3 separate regions of the Homo sapiens genome follow, and all the other regions are linked to region 2. The links are contacts of gene promoters, found by promoter capture Hi-C in human tissues and cell types (Jung and others, 2019). All regions are on one chromosome and are shown on one strand. The core of a region is centred on a gene start or on the middle of the fragment in contact, and the rest is flanking DNA. Distances in the headings are between cores, read along the strand shown.

What was found. The method cuts DNA at HindIII sites, captures the fragments that hold promoters and counts their contacts. A contact is called where the count stands out against the background at its distance.
Region 1: a contact is called between a fragment that was not itself captured here and the fragment with the promoter of ZNF521 in region 2, in 1 of the 25 tissues and cell types used here (mesendoderm cells).
Region 3: a contact is called between a fragment that was not itself captured here and the fragment with the promoter of ZNF521 in region 2, in 7 of the 25 tissues and cell types used here (H1 embryonic stem cells, IMR-90 fibroblasts, aorta and 4 more).

Annotation. Positions count from the first base shown.
Region 1 is chr18:25,642,946-25,647,159 of GRCh38, reverse strand. No RefSeq gene overlaps it. Among named protein-coding and RNA genes, the nearest start is that of ZNF521, 290 kb to the right of the region's middle. The HindIII fragment of the contact is 6,660 bases long and covers 1-4,214 here.
Region 2 is chr18:25,348,877-25,353,542 of GRCh38, reverse strand. It overlaps ZNF521 (zinc finger protein 521), which reads left to right and starts at 1,377. Exons shown (of 8, transcript NM_015461.3): 1 at 1,377-1,538; 2 at 2,596-2,636. The coding sequence starts at 2,597. RefSeq lists a silencer at 1,282-1,351. The HindIII fragment of the contact is 6,455 bases long and covers 379-4,666 here.
Region 3 is chr18:25,059,924-25,064,520 of GRCh38, reverse strand. ZNF521 (zinc finger protein 521) reads left to right here. Exons shown (of 8, transcript NM_015461.3): 8 at 1,780-2,597. The coding sequence ends at 1,809. Among named protein-coding and RNA genes, the nearest start is that of LINC01894, 74 kb to the right of the region's middle. The HindIII fragment of the contact is 5,713 bases long and covers 1-4,597 here.

The sequences.
Region 1 (4,214 bases), core at 368-2,867, 290 kb before region 2:
ATGGTTAGAGCTAAAGTAACAGAGAGCCAAATCAGCTGAAGGTTGGCTAGGCATCTCTCTCTTTATGTAATCTCAGGGCCTTGCCATGTGCTAGTCTGGTATTTCCATATGAGCTAGTTTGGTCTTTCTCATAGCATGGTGGTCTCAGGCCAGTCAGATTGCTTCTATGACAGCAGAATACTTCAAGAATAAGCAAACAACTCAGAGGCTCTATGGCCTTTAAAGCCACATAGCATTGCTTTTGTTATTTTCTGTTGGTTGAAATAATCAAGAAAACTTATCCTGTTCTAAGGAAAGTAGATATAGACCTTCCTTTTTTATAGGAGGAGTGTCACAGTCACATTGTAAGAACAGCATGTAGTATAGAAGATGTTATGGCAGGTGTTTTAGGAAAATAGAATCTGCCACACTATTCCAAATTGGAGCTCCCCTTAGATCCTTTGTTGAGACTGCATCACAGACCAACTTCTCCCTTGGCCCATACCTTCTTCCTTTTCTTCTTCCAAAGGTGTCTTAGTCTATTTTGTGTTGCTATAAAGGAATACCTGAGGCTGGATCATTTACAAAGAAAAGAGGTTTATTTAGCTCATGGTTCTGGAGGCTTTACAAGAAGCACGATGCTGGCATCTGCTCGACTTCTGGCACAAAAGCTGAGGCAAAACATGTTGAAGGTCAAAGGGGAAGTAGTCCTATCCAAACAGGAGCCAAACCTGAGGGGCGTCTTGGCTTTATAACAAACCACTCTAACAGAAACTAATCTATTCCCCAGAACCAATCCAATCTCATGAGAGCGAAAATTCACTCACAACTGCAAGAATGGCACTGAGCCATTCATAAGAGATGCACCCTCATGACCCAAACACCTCTCGCTAGGCCCCACCTCCCAACACCACCACACTGCAGGTTAAATTTCAACATGACATTTGGTGAGGACAAACAAAACACATCCAAACCATAGCAATAGGTGTTGATCCTGAAAGCACTTCTTAACAAACTTCCTTCATTATAATTTTCATTGCCCAGTCTCCCTTCCAGGAAACCTGACCTACAACAACTCGATAGCCATGTAGGTTTTCCCTGCTGTGAACTGCATAATAATTGTCCTCCACTTCATTTTCTACTGTGTTTTCTACCTTTTCTCATTAATTTCCGGGAGTTTGTAGGTAGTCTCTTAATAAATATCAATCCTGGTTCCATTTTAGAAGTTGCAAATATGTTCCCCAAAACCACGATCTGTCCATTAAGTTTGCCTATAATGCCCTTTATTTTATAGACAGCTAGACACGTTTTTTATTTAGGTATGTATTTTAGAAAGTTTCAAGCATGCCCTGAACATGTTATTCTATTGGCCTTATTTATTTTTAATTCTAGAGGATTTAAAAATTGTAAATTGATAAAACCCTTATAATTACGTAAATTTATGGAGAAATAAATGATGGCATAATTTAGGAATATAATGTGGAATAATTAAATCAAGCTAGTTAATATATCCATCGCCTCAAATATTCACCACAGTGTGTGATAAAACTCAAAAAAGAAAAAAACATTCCTTCTGTTTGAGATTTTTTGCCTTTTGACCATCCTCTCCCCATCCCTCCACTCCCTTGACTATCATTACCATTCTGCTCTTCGCTCCTAGGAATTCAATTGTTTTAGATTCCACATGTAAGTGTGAACATGCAATATTTGTTATTCTGAGCCTGACATTTCACTTAGCATAATGTTCTCCAATTCCATTCATGTTGTCACAGATGACAGAACTTCTTTCCTTTTGTAAGGCTGAATGATATTCCATTGTGTATAAATACCACATTTTAAAAATTCATTCATCCATTGTTGGAAACTTAGGTTGATTCCATATCTTGGCTACTGTATGAATAGTGCTGCAATAAACATGGGAGTTCAGACATCTCTTCAACAAACCGATTTCAAATCTTTTGGGTAAATATTCAAGAGTGGGATTGCTGGATCATATGGTAATTCTATTTTTGTTTTCTTTTTTAAATATCCCTATGCTGTTTTCCATAGCGGCTATATTAATTTACTGATTTTACTGTACTAATTTATAATCTCAACAGCAGTATCAAAGTATTTCCATTTTTATTTTACCTTTCTTATTTAGGTCTTTATTCCATCTGGCATCCACTTTTAATATGGTGTATATAGAAATTCAATACTGTTTTTCTCCATAGAGTTTCCCCTATATCATTTTCTAAGCAGTATGCCACTTTCCTATTTTTCTGAGATCTTTTATGTTCTCTTGAAGGTTTTTTAATTGCCATATTGTTTTTCTTACTAAAGCTTTTTGGATACATTGCTCTATGATAGAACATGATTCTTTTTCTTTGCTCCTCTTTTTCAAAATTGACTTGGCTATTTGTACACTTGTATTCTTCCACAACATTGCAGGATGAATTCATAGAATTCCTTTAAAACTAATTCTGCTTAGAATTTTTATTGGAATTGCATTGCATGTGGAGATTAGGGAGGACTGACATCTTTTACTGTTAAGTCATTTCATCAATGAATATGTATCTCTCTCCATTTATTCAGATGATTAGGATTTTTTCAATAGTAGTAGTATGGAGACTCCTTATCTAGTGGTGGATCCATATTCCCTGCTATTTATTTATCAAGGCAGACTTAGCAGACCTAAGCAGACCCGGAAACCTACATTATTCATCTGACACTTGTTCTAGAAATAATAAATACGACCCTACAGTTGTTTAAAATCTATTTTTTATTAAGAAAAGAATAACAATAAATGGACAAAGATTATAAAAAAAGAAATACCAATTTTGGGGGTTTTTTGTTTGTTTTTTGAGATGGGGTCTCACTCAGTCACCCAGGTTGGAGTGCAGTAGCGTGATCTTGGCTCACTGCAACCTCTGCCTCCCAGGCTCAAATGATCCTCTCACCTCAGCCTGCTGAGTAGCTGGGACCAAGTGCGGCTAATTTTTTTGTATTTTTGGTAGAGACAGGATTTCACCATGTTGCCCCAGGCTGGTCTCCTCCTGAGTTCAGGAGATTCACCCGCCTCAGCTTCCCCAAGTGCTGGAATTACAGGCATGAGCCACTGCACCTTGCCCCAGTGTTTTTAAGTTAGGAAAAGATGCTCAACTTCACCTATAATTAGGGAAATGCAAATTAGAAACATAATGATATGCTACTTTTTGCTCATGAAACTGACAAATTTCCAAAAGTTTGTATTAACAGAATGTTGGAAGCAAGTGCTCACATACATAGTTGGTAGGATTCCAAATACATGTGAACTCTTTGAAGGGAAATTTCTCAACATATTTCAAAATTAAGAATACAGGTAACATTTGAACTTGCAGTTTCACTGGTGGAAATTTATCCTTCAAGTGTACTTACACATCTGTGCAAAGTTGTATAAAGAAGGCTATTTTACAGCATTATTTATGCTAGCAAAAGGCTGGAATAATCTAAATGTGCATCAGAAGGGTATGGCTAAAAACTATTTGTATATCCATACAGCAGAATAACATGCAGCCTTTGAAAATAATTAGGTATAGCTTCTTTCTGTGATATGGAGTAATCTTGAGGATTGTAAAGTGGAAAAGGCACAATGCCAAATGTGTATAAAGTATACTCCAACTGTATAAAGCAAAAAGGATGTATTAATATATTTGTTTGCAGTTCCATACAATATCTCTGGAGTGATAATTAAGAAACAGATAATAGTGGTTGCCTCTGGGAAGGACAGCTGGGAACTGAGGGTTGAGGTGGGAGAAGACATTCTTTACTCTCTCTATCCCTTTGAACTCTTCAATTAATTTTTTTTAACAAGATTTACATATTATTTTAAAAAATAAATTTAAAACTATTTTAAAACTTAGTTTCATCCTCTCACATAAGTTGTAGAATATTATCCCATATTAGAGATGCTTTGGTGTATTTAGATTCGACCTAAATCTTTATCTTTTTAGCTTATTATATGTGCCTGTGTTCCTTCCTGCACACTCCATGGAATTATTAGGAGATATGTTTTTCTAGCAAAAGTGGAAGAAAATAATACCATAGTTTAAAAGTCTTTGGCAATGGTACATAAGTCCTTCTATTGGAAGTGAAATGGGGATTGGAATAATGTTTCATTGCATTTGAACAATGTTGAAGTAAAATCTGGAGAATTCTTAATAGGTTTGTGTTATGGGCTGAATTTTGTCCTCCTAAAATTCATATATTGAAATCCT
Region 2 (4,666 bases), core at 128-2,627:
TAGGAATTACTGCAGATGGATTGAAAACTCATTTAATTATAATGAAGATATTGAAAAAAAACATACTGTATTTGCAGCTATCCACATGAGGGTCCAGGCAGTTTACAGGTTAGACTGGAAAAAATACAACTTCCTTAAAGCTTTGATGTCTTTGCATGGTGGCTTAATAGATAGCTGTACCTTAATTTTACAGAACGGAGAATTTTTAAAATCTGATTAAGAACAATAGTATTTGTACAAAATTCTGCCTGTTTTGTGTAATTAACCGTATTCTGAATCTCTTAATTTCCACCAAGACTTGTGAATCTAAGCTCTACTTGGTAGCCCTCTCAGGCATTTATAACTTGACAAGCGTGTCCAATCAATAAATAGCAACAACAATAATAATACTAAAACATCCTTTCCCTTAAGATAAGGTAAAAGAAGGAAACAGGTGATGGTTTCTTGTTTTGCGATGGGAGCAGGTGAAAAGTTAGAAAACAAAACTGCGAAAAGAAACAAAAATTCCCACCGACCTGCAGACATTTCAATTTATTTTAGAAACTATTTTCTTGTACACATATTCTTAAGTGCATATTTCCTTACCTCTTGCTTAAAGAAAAAATCAACAGAAAGCTTTATTTTCTGGACAAAGATCTATGTCAATTTGAGAATGTTAAAAAAGTGAACTCAAAGCTGTCTCTTTTGAATCACATTATGACATTCGTCAGCATCAATGACTTTCTCTAAACGAGAAAATAAAAAAAAAGTCCAAATAACTTGCCTTTATAAAGATTCCAAGTAAGAGAGACTTGGCAGGTCTGCGGTTGCCATAAAAAAGATTTCCCGAGTCCGGGCAACAACAGCAGACACACTTTTTTAAAGTCCGACAATGCAAAAGCCAAGCAATGAATTTCCCCCCTCCTTTCTTTTTCTTTTTCTTTTTCTTTTTTTTTTTTTTTTTTTTTGCCCCCTCAAGAACAAATTGTTGCCTCCTTTTACATCCATCCTACCAGAAGGGGGACCTTTCCACTTTCAGATGCTCCTCTGCTTTAATTTCTGAAGAGGAAAAAAAGCGAGCAGAAGAGCCCCGAGATCCGCCGTGGAGCTCTAATAACGCAGCTGCGGCGGCGGCGACGGCGGCGGCGCGGGGTGTGCGAGCGGCCGGGCGGGCGGCGCGAGGGGCGGCGGCGCAGGAGCGGGCGGGGCGCGCGGCGCGTGGGAGGCGGCGGCGGCGGCGGCGGCGGCGGGCGGGGCTCGGGGCGCTCGGCCGCCGCCTGGCTCCGGATCCGCGCGCCGCGGCCGGCGCCTCCAGTCCGGGTCTTGGCGGGCCCCCTCCTCCCTCCCGCTCCCCGCGCTCTCGCCTTTTAATCATGCCCCTCTGTCTGTGTGTGAGTGCAGGCAGGCTGACAATGATTTCCTCAGTGATTACGTACAGAGCGAGTCCCTGCGGGTTAGGGGCCCCCTCTGGAGCCATCCTGATGGCTTTGGGGGCCTTGCTTCCATTTTCCATTATTATGTGGACTACCGGAGCGACAGCGCAGTCCAAGACCTTGCAGGTTTGTGATGAGGAGGGAGCACACAGCACACTCCTTCTCCTCCTCCTGCTCCCGGCTCTCCTCCTCCTCCTCCTCCTGCTCTCGCCGCCGCTGCCGCCGCCGCTGCCGCCGCTGCTGCCGCCGCCGCTGCCGAGGCAGCCGTAGACTTTAGAGCCCCGGTCCAGCGCCAGCCGCCGGCGCCGCGCCCCCGCCCAGAGAGGGGCGCCCCGAGCCCGGGCCCCGCACACCCCCTGCACACAAGCAGCCCCGCACACCACCTGGGGGCCGTCGGCTCGGGTGCTTTGGCTTTTTCTTTTTGAAAGAAATTACTTTAGTGTGGGTTAAGAAAAAAAGGGTGGGGGGAAGGGAGAAAAAAAGTATTTTTTTCCCTTTGCTTATTTTCGTGGCCCGTTCGCATCTGCCTCGGATGGTGGGAGATTTTTCTTTCCAAGACCTTTTCATCGCCTTGCAGGGTCGATTTCCCCCCCTCGTCCCCCCAACTACAAAAGAGCACGACTCGCTTTGTAAACAAATCAGTGTTATTTGTTTTTTTCCGGTGGGGGGGGGGGCGGATTTGTTGAAAAGGAAAAGCGGTAAAGAAAAAAAAAATCACCCAGACGCTTTTCTTTTTATTAGTTTTTTTCTATTCGCATGAACTATGTGAATTTTGATTGAGGTGGAAATAGTAACGGATTTTCTCTTTTTAGTGTAGCTGACGGCTCTTCAAACATTGTCTTTGGGGTTTTTTTTTTAGCTTTTTTTCCCTCCTTTCCTTTTTTCTTTTTCCTTTTTTTTTTTTTTTCTTGGAGATTGGGGGTGGGGGTCGAAGGCTGGGAAAGTTTGGTGCAGCAGCCGCCGCCGCCGCCGCCGCCGTCGTGCAGAGCGCGGAGCTCGGGCAGCCGCGAGCCCCGCGCGCGAGCGCGAGCCGGAGCCGGAGCGAGGAGCGGAGCGCGGAGCGAGGGCGCGAGGGAGGCCGAGCGGAGGGCGCGAGGCGCCGCGGCCCGAGGGGCGCGCGGCCACGAGGAAGTATAGTTTCTTTCAGGGCTGAATTGAAACAACTTCAGCTGTTTGCTTTTAGGATGTCTCGCCGCAAGCAAGCGAAACCGAGATCCCTCAAAGGTAAGGAGGAACCCCCTGCTCCCCGCTTTCCCCCATCCGCGAGTGTCACTGTGGGTAGCGGAGCGAGGGCTGCGTGGCTGCGAGGCGTGTGCGCGCGTGAGTGTGAGTGTGAGTGCGGGGGCGCGCGCGCTCCCCTCCCCGCTGAGCCCCTAGGTGGAGTGAGGGTGAGGTGTCGGGGTGGGGGGAGACGAAGACGGGAGGAGGATCCCCGAATGGGGCGGCGGTAGAAAGTGGGCGAGAAAAGACAACAACAACCGAAAAAAAAAAAGAGAGAGAGAGAGAAAGAAACGAAATTATCCGGAGAGGGAGGAAAAAAAAATATCCCGTCTGAGATCTACATCTGGGCTGGAGGAAAAAGTTTCTGTTGTGTGTTTTCGCAAAGAATAAATATGCAAAACCGTGCGGTGCTTCTTTTTTCCTTTTCTTTGGAAGAAGAAAAAAGTCATCTCGGAGGTGGGGAGCAGCCCCCGCTCGTGACAAACGTGGCCCGGGGTCCCGGCCGCCGCCTCCCGCCCGCCCGCGTCCTGCTTGGGTCCTCTCCGCACGTCGCCGGAGTAAACAGACCCCGGCCGCCGGCCGCGGGCACCGGACCCCGGCTCGGGCCTCAGAGCACCCCTCTTGGCCATTCCCAGAAGTTGACCGCCCCTCGCCCCTACTTCTCCCCGCCGCCCCTGGAGTCCTTTGCGTTTCGCGGTGGGGTCCAGCTCTCCGTCGTCCCTGTTGGAGAGGGAAGTTGCGGGGCGTGCGTGCGGGATTTTGGGGGCGCACTAGCTGGCTGCGGCGGGGGCGGGGGTCCCTGAAGTTATCGATCTGATGGCTGTGTTGGAATGTGGCGAGGAGAGTCACGTGGCGGCCTCCTCCTCCTCCTCGGCCGCCTCCTCCACCTTCGCGAGCCTCCTTCCGAGGAAATCGGGGGCGGGCGGCCGAGGGGAGCCGCGAGGTCCGGCGCTCCGAGGCGGAGAGCGGGGAGGGCGGGCGGCGGAGCGCGAGGGCCGGAGGAGGGGCGCGCGGGCAGGACGGGGAACCGGGGCGAGGGCCAGGGGGCCAGCGCTGGAGGCGGCCGCGGCCCCCGCGACCCGGAGGCGGAGGACAAAGGGCGGCTGGTGCGCCCGCCCGGGCCCGCTGGGTCCCGCCGAGGTCCGCGCGGCCCGGCCCCGCCCTCTGGTCCCCGGCGGCGCAGCATCCTCTTCCTCCTGGCTGCCGGGCCGCGGCGCCCCGTGGCCCCGGTTCCCGCACCAGCTTCCCGACTCGCCGCCGGCCCGGGGAAAAGGGGTGGGCAGGGCCCGGCGCCCCACGCCTCCCGGCCCCCGGCCGCTGTGCATTTTTGAACTCGATGAACGGAGCCCTCACCGCACACACAAAGCCCTTTCTTTCTTCTCCTGGGAAGGGACGGGGTGGGGGAGGGCCTCGCAGATTGGAACGCTTGCTTTTTTCCTAAAGCGCAGAAGTTTTAGTTCGGGAACGAGGTGAATCATTGGCATGTGTCTCCACACAGTGTGTCTGGTGGTTTCCGTCACATGGGCCCCTCATTTTTCTGGGGGAAACCTAGACCCAGGGCCTGAAAGATCCAAGTGTCGACAGTGAAAAAAGAAACGCCACGGGCGTGCGCGGGTGTCAGGGTAACGGTGGACCAGGCTCGCGCCGGCGAGACTTGCCCGAGACCCCGGCTTTCTTGAAAGTAACGCTGAGCGAAGTACCAGGACAAACCTCTTCCTAGTCACTTGGAAAGAAGAACTTTCCGAGTTGAAGTAGGATAGCGGTTAGTGCCTGTCCGGTGGAAAGGGCTCCAAGAAGCTTCTGAAACCCCGTGAAGGAATTTGGGAGGGATTTTTCTTTTCAAAAAAAAAAAAGTTTATTAAAGTTTGCACGATTGGCAGTTTTGTTCACTCGCAGCTTCTGAGCATTTGGTTCACCTGCTTTTGGAGTGAATTTACAGCGAAAGTTTGGTTGACTGTGAATGCGTTTGTTCCCAGTGCTTCCTGAAGATGATTTCTTCTCATGCACGTAGGATTTTATGGGCAGTAAAGGGA
Region 3 (4,597 bases), core at 1,087-3,586, 290 kb after region 2:
GCTCCATCTTCATGTCTCGTGAGTACTGTTGATTCAGAACACTCCAGAAGAATTCATCCAATCTAAACAAGTTGCAGGTCTGCAAACGTACCTTGCATATTCCTGTTTCATTGCCCTGACCCATGTGGGTCCCTTGGCCTAGAGTGCCCTCCCTGTACTCTCTGCTCATGTCTCCGGCTGTCAGTATGCTGGATCCACTTGGAACCATTCCCCAATGGCTAGGCAGGTTTAGGTGTATCCGTGACATTTCTGTGTTCTTTTCTAATAGACTGCTTGCCATCTTGCTTTACTTTTATGTACCCACATGACCTTCTTTAGACTGTGAGCACTTTGAAGGCATGAAGGCAAGGACCATGCCCTTCCTCTCCAGTAGCCCTTGCCTTGCCAGCCAGTCACTGAGATAGCCAAACCCTCTTTCCTGAGCACTGCAGCGCTCTGGCATGTGCCAGGTGCTGATGTGCGTTTTCAATAGATGCTTGTAGATGAATGAATAAATGAATGAACATCGGAATTATTGGCATGAGTGAGAGCCAGGCCTACAAATAATCATGAGACAAGACCTAAGATGCATCCTATGTAAGCAGTATAAAGTGCAGCAGGAAATCAGAGAAGGGAGAGATCAGTGTTAGATGGGGTGAGGATGGAAGTGGTGATATTTTGAGCTGGGCCCCAAGGTTGTAATACAAAGGGATTGGGGTCAGGGGATACAAGTGAGTAGTGAGAGAACATGGCTCCAGGAAAGCACAGAGGAGGAGAGTGGAGATCAGGCCATCTCCAGGCTTATGCTCCAGGCAAATATCCTGCAGATCTGTGACCATCATCCAGGCCTGGTTCCTGGCGAACCAGGTTATCTCTTCATCCTTTACAGCAACTAGCAAACTGCCTGCTCCCTGAATACAGGCTGAATGACCAGAGGTTCAGCTCAACTTTCCCACCCGGCGTCCACCCTCAGGGCCTGGCTGGTGGTCCTGAGTTGCCCAGCAATCCCAGTTACCCTCTCACAATTTGGAAAGAGAGTGTTCACTCAGAAAGGGGACATGCTAGCATAGATGAGCAGGGACCACCAATATACAGCACAGGCTGTGTCAGCTGAGAAAGAGCATCCGGGGACAAGGGGAGACCTGGCGGGCTACTGTAATCTGCCCCTGAGCCACGGTATGACCACAGCCCAAAGCCCACCCTCAGGAGGGGGGCTGCTCCCACTGTCCATCATCAGCCAGCTAACTCTTGCATTTCATACCCATATTCAGGGGCAGATAGAGCCCCTGTTGTCAAGATGTTACAGTCTCAGAGGGATTGGAACAGAGGCATATGTAACCAATGGAAATCACGCACAGATCCATAAAACTGTTAAAACAGTGCTACCTGCTCCTTGAACACTGGGTCGTATCTTAATAAGAAGAGATGATGGATGGCGGGAGGGTATTATAGAAAGGCATGGCAGAGGTGGAGAAAAGGCAAGGTGCCAGCCAGCCATCTCACATTAAGGAGGCTTCTGCCCTGGCCTCTCCTTCCAGGCCCTCATGGGTGACAGCAGGTTCAGAAGATCTCTGGGTCTGTTTCCCCCTGGGGAAGAAACATTAGATTTTTTTTAACATTAGAGGGCACCCATGAGCACTATTCATCAGAGGGCAGAAACTCATTGTTCTGTTCAAGTCATTATGAATTAATTACATGTATATATGCTTGGTCTGATGAAAATGAAATCACTGAAGTTTGTTTTCCCTCTCTTCTCTTTTTTTTTTTTTTTTTTTTTTTTTTTTTTTTTGTTATTTACAGAATCATACAATGACCCAACACAGCAGTTAGTGCAAGTACAGTCTCTCAAGGAGAATTGATTTTGTGGCACAAAAAGGGAACATGTTTTACTCTTTGCACGAAACTTTCATTGTTAATGTATATTATTCAGAAACATTGTATTGTACCATAAAACTTGTATTATCAAACTGTTGGATGTTCATGTGTTTGAACTTTTGCGCACCGGATAGACCCCTTGTATATAAAGTGTTGCACATGTATTATGTCGTCTGATACTAAAATGGTCTTATAAAGACAAGTGGACTTGGGCCCTATTCAGGCAAGATTAAAAAAAAAAAAAGACTATGACCAAAATGGCTTAAGATAAAGTATTTTTAAGGAAGAAAGATTAAAAACAACTGTTATACATGAGACTATGGTTGGACTTCCTTTTCTTTACACTTAAGCCTAGAATTTCTCTTTAGGTATATCAGCGCTTAAATCCAAGACTATTTTTTATTGCTGAAGATTCTTGCAAACCATGAAGAGATGTTCTCACAGAACAGAACCCCACAGCTGGATAAGGCCCGTATATATATATTTGTAAGCCTTGCAATGTGACAGGTAGCATCACTATATATGCAATAGTTGTTATGTAGACTGTCAAAGAATTTTTTTTTCCCTGGATACATTTGAAGCTTTGAGTGTTCAAGGTTTTCCTTAATGATTTCACGCAGCCAAATTCTTGAATCAGTTGAACTAACCTGTATGTTACTGTTATTAATGTTTACTCTGCAGTCTGAACCTGGAGATTACTGGAATTGTTTTCCAAGAGGAAATAAATTCAGTTTACCATTAGGTATGAGTGTATTTGTGTGTTTTCTTTCTCTAGTTACTACACCATTAAAAAAAATCTAATTGCCTGCACCCTTGGATATGAAATCTGCTCTTGAGCATATCACAGGCATTACCTCAATCATATTTAACCTTTTCACACTGGGCCAAATGCATCTGGAAGGATATTCATCACTCTTCATAGGGAAGGAATCAGACACAGTATCCTTCTACTCTGTTACATACTAACAGGTCACATTGTACTTGAGGATTCTGACATCACAGATGGATGTGATGGCTGTTTTCTGCATAATTTGCAGCCCAATTCATGTCATGCTGTGCAAATCTGAACTCAAAGTAGATGGCTGCAATTTGAGAGGCAGTTTGGCTTATGTGTACTTAAGAAGCAGCATTGTTCATTCAGAAGACAAAGCACAGAGCAAGGAGTCAGATGGTTGTTAGTTGTAGTTCTGGCACTGCCTCCCGATGGGAGTTCCTTTACCTCCCAGCCTTGGTTCCTCCAGCCCGGGAAGGTAACAGAACCTGGTCATCAGCCTTCACCCAGGCATGGGGCATCTCTGGAAGGTTGCCTCCACTACAGCCTGCCATCCAACGGTCAATAAGTAAGAGCTCTAATTTCAGAGCTTCTTTTTGTTTTTTGAAAGAAGAAAAGAATTGCTATGTGTAACGTGAACCCTGATATTCACGTTTAGTCAAAATTGGTAAGTAAAGACCTGGTATTCATGGGCAACCTTCATGCAAACTATGCTGAAAATATTTAAGCCACTGTGAGTCTTTTGACCTCTTCTAAGCTCTGAGATCTTTGAACCTTAAACAAACAAGAATCCTCACAGCACTTTTTTGGTGGGGAACTAAAAGCAGGGACCAGTTGCCTTTGTTGTGACCACGTGTCACCAGGAGAACCATTGATGAAACCAAGATTACCAGCACCACAGTTAATCCCCATCCCATGGCTCTCGAGCCTTAACCTGTTCCAGGATCACCTAGAGAGCTTGGTACATCCTGGGGTGCTGGGCCCAACTCCCAGAGCTGCTGATTCAGTCGGCCTGGGGTGGGGCTCAAAACTGCCTAAGGAGTTCCCAGGTGATGCTGGTATTGCTGGTATGGGGACCACACGTTGAGAACCACTACCCTACCATGTTTCCAAATTAGTTGAATACATTAAACATAAGCAATCAAGTGGAGTGGTGGCAAATTACCCTATTATGTTAGCAATATAAAAACAGTTTGGTCAAATTTTAAGATCATTCAGAAACAAGTATTTTATAGTGATTAAAGTATGTGTGCTCACCAGAATGTTGTGTGTGTGTGTGTGCGTGTGTGCAGATGGTTCCCAACTTACAATGGTTCAGCTTACAGTTTTGTTTTGGTTTTTTTTTTTTTTTTGAGATGGAGTCTCGCATTGTCACCCAGGTTGGAGTGCAGTGGCACGATCTCAGCTCACTGCAACCACCGCCTCCCGGCTTCAAGCGATTCTCCTGCCTCAGCCTCCCAAGTAGCTGGGATTACAGGCGCCCACCATGCCCAGCTAATTTTTTGTATTTTTAGTAGAGACGGGGTTTCACTATGTTGGCGAAGCTGGTTTCAAACTCGTGACCACGTGATCCACCCGCCTCAGCCTCCCAAAGTGCTGGGATTACAGGCGTGAGCCACTGCGCCTGGCCCAGCTTACTTTATCACGGTGCAAAAGTAATACACATTCAGTAGCTCCTCAAGTTACAATGGGGTTACATCCGGCTAAATCCATCGTAAGTTGGCAAACATCTGTATTCAGCTTCATAATGCTAGGAAAACCTGCATCTATACATTTCACAATGGATTGCCAGCACGCTATTTAATTAAAAAGCTTTTTCACCAGCTACATAAATAATGAAGTATGCTGAGAATATGCAAGTACATCTATAATTAAAATACTCAGCTATATTTTTTAAAAATTAAGATCTCTGGTCCATTCAGGATTTTGCATTTAGAATGAAATAGTCATGCTTAGTAATGATTTTTTTAA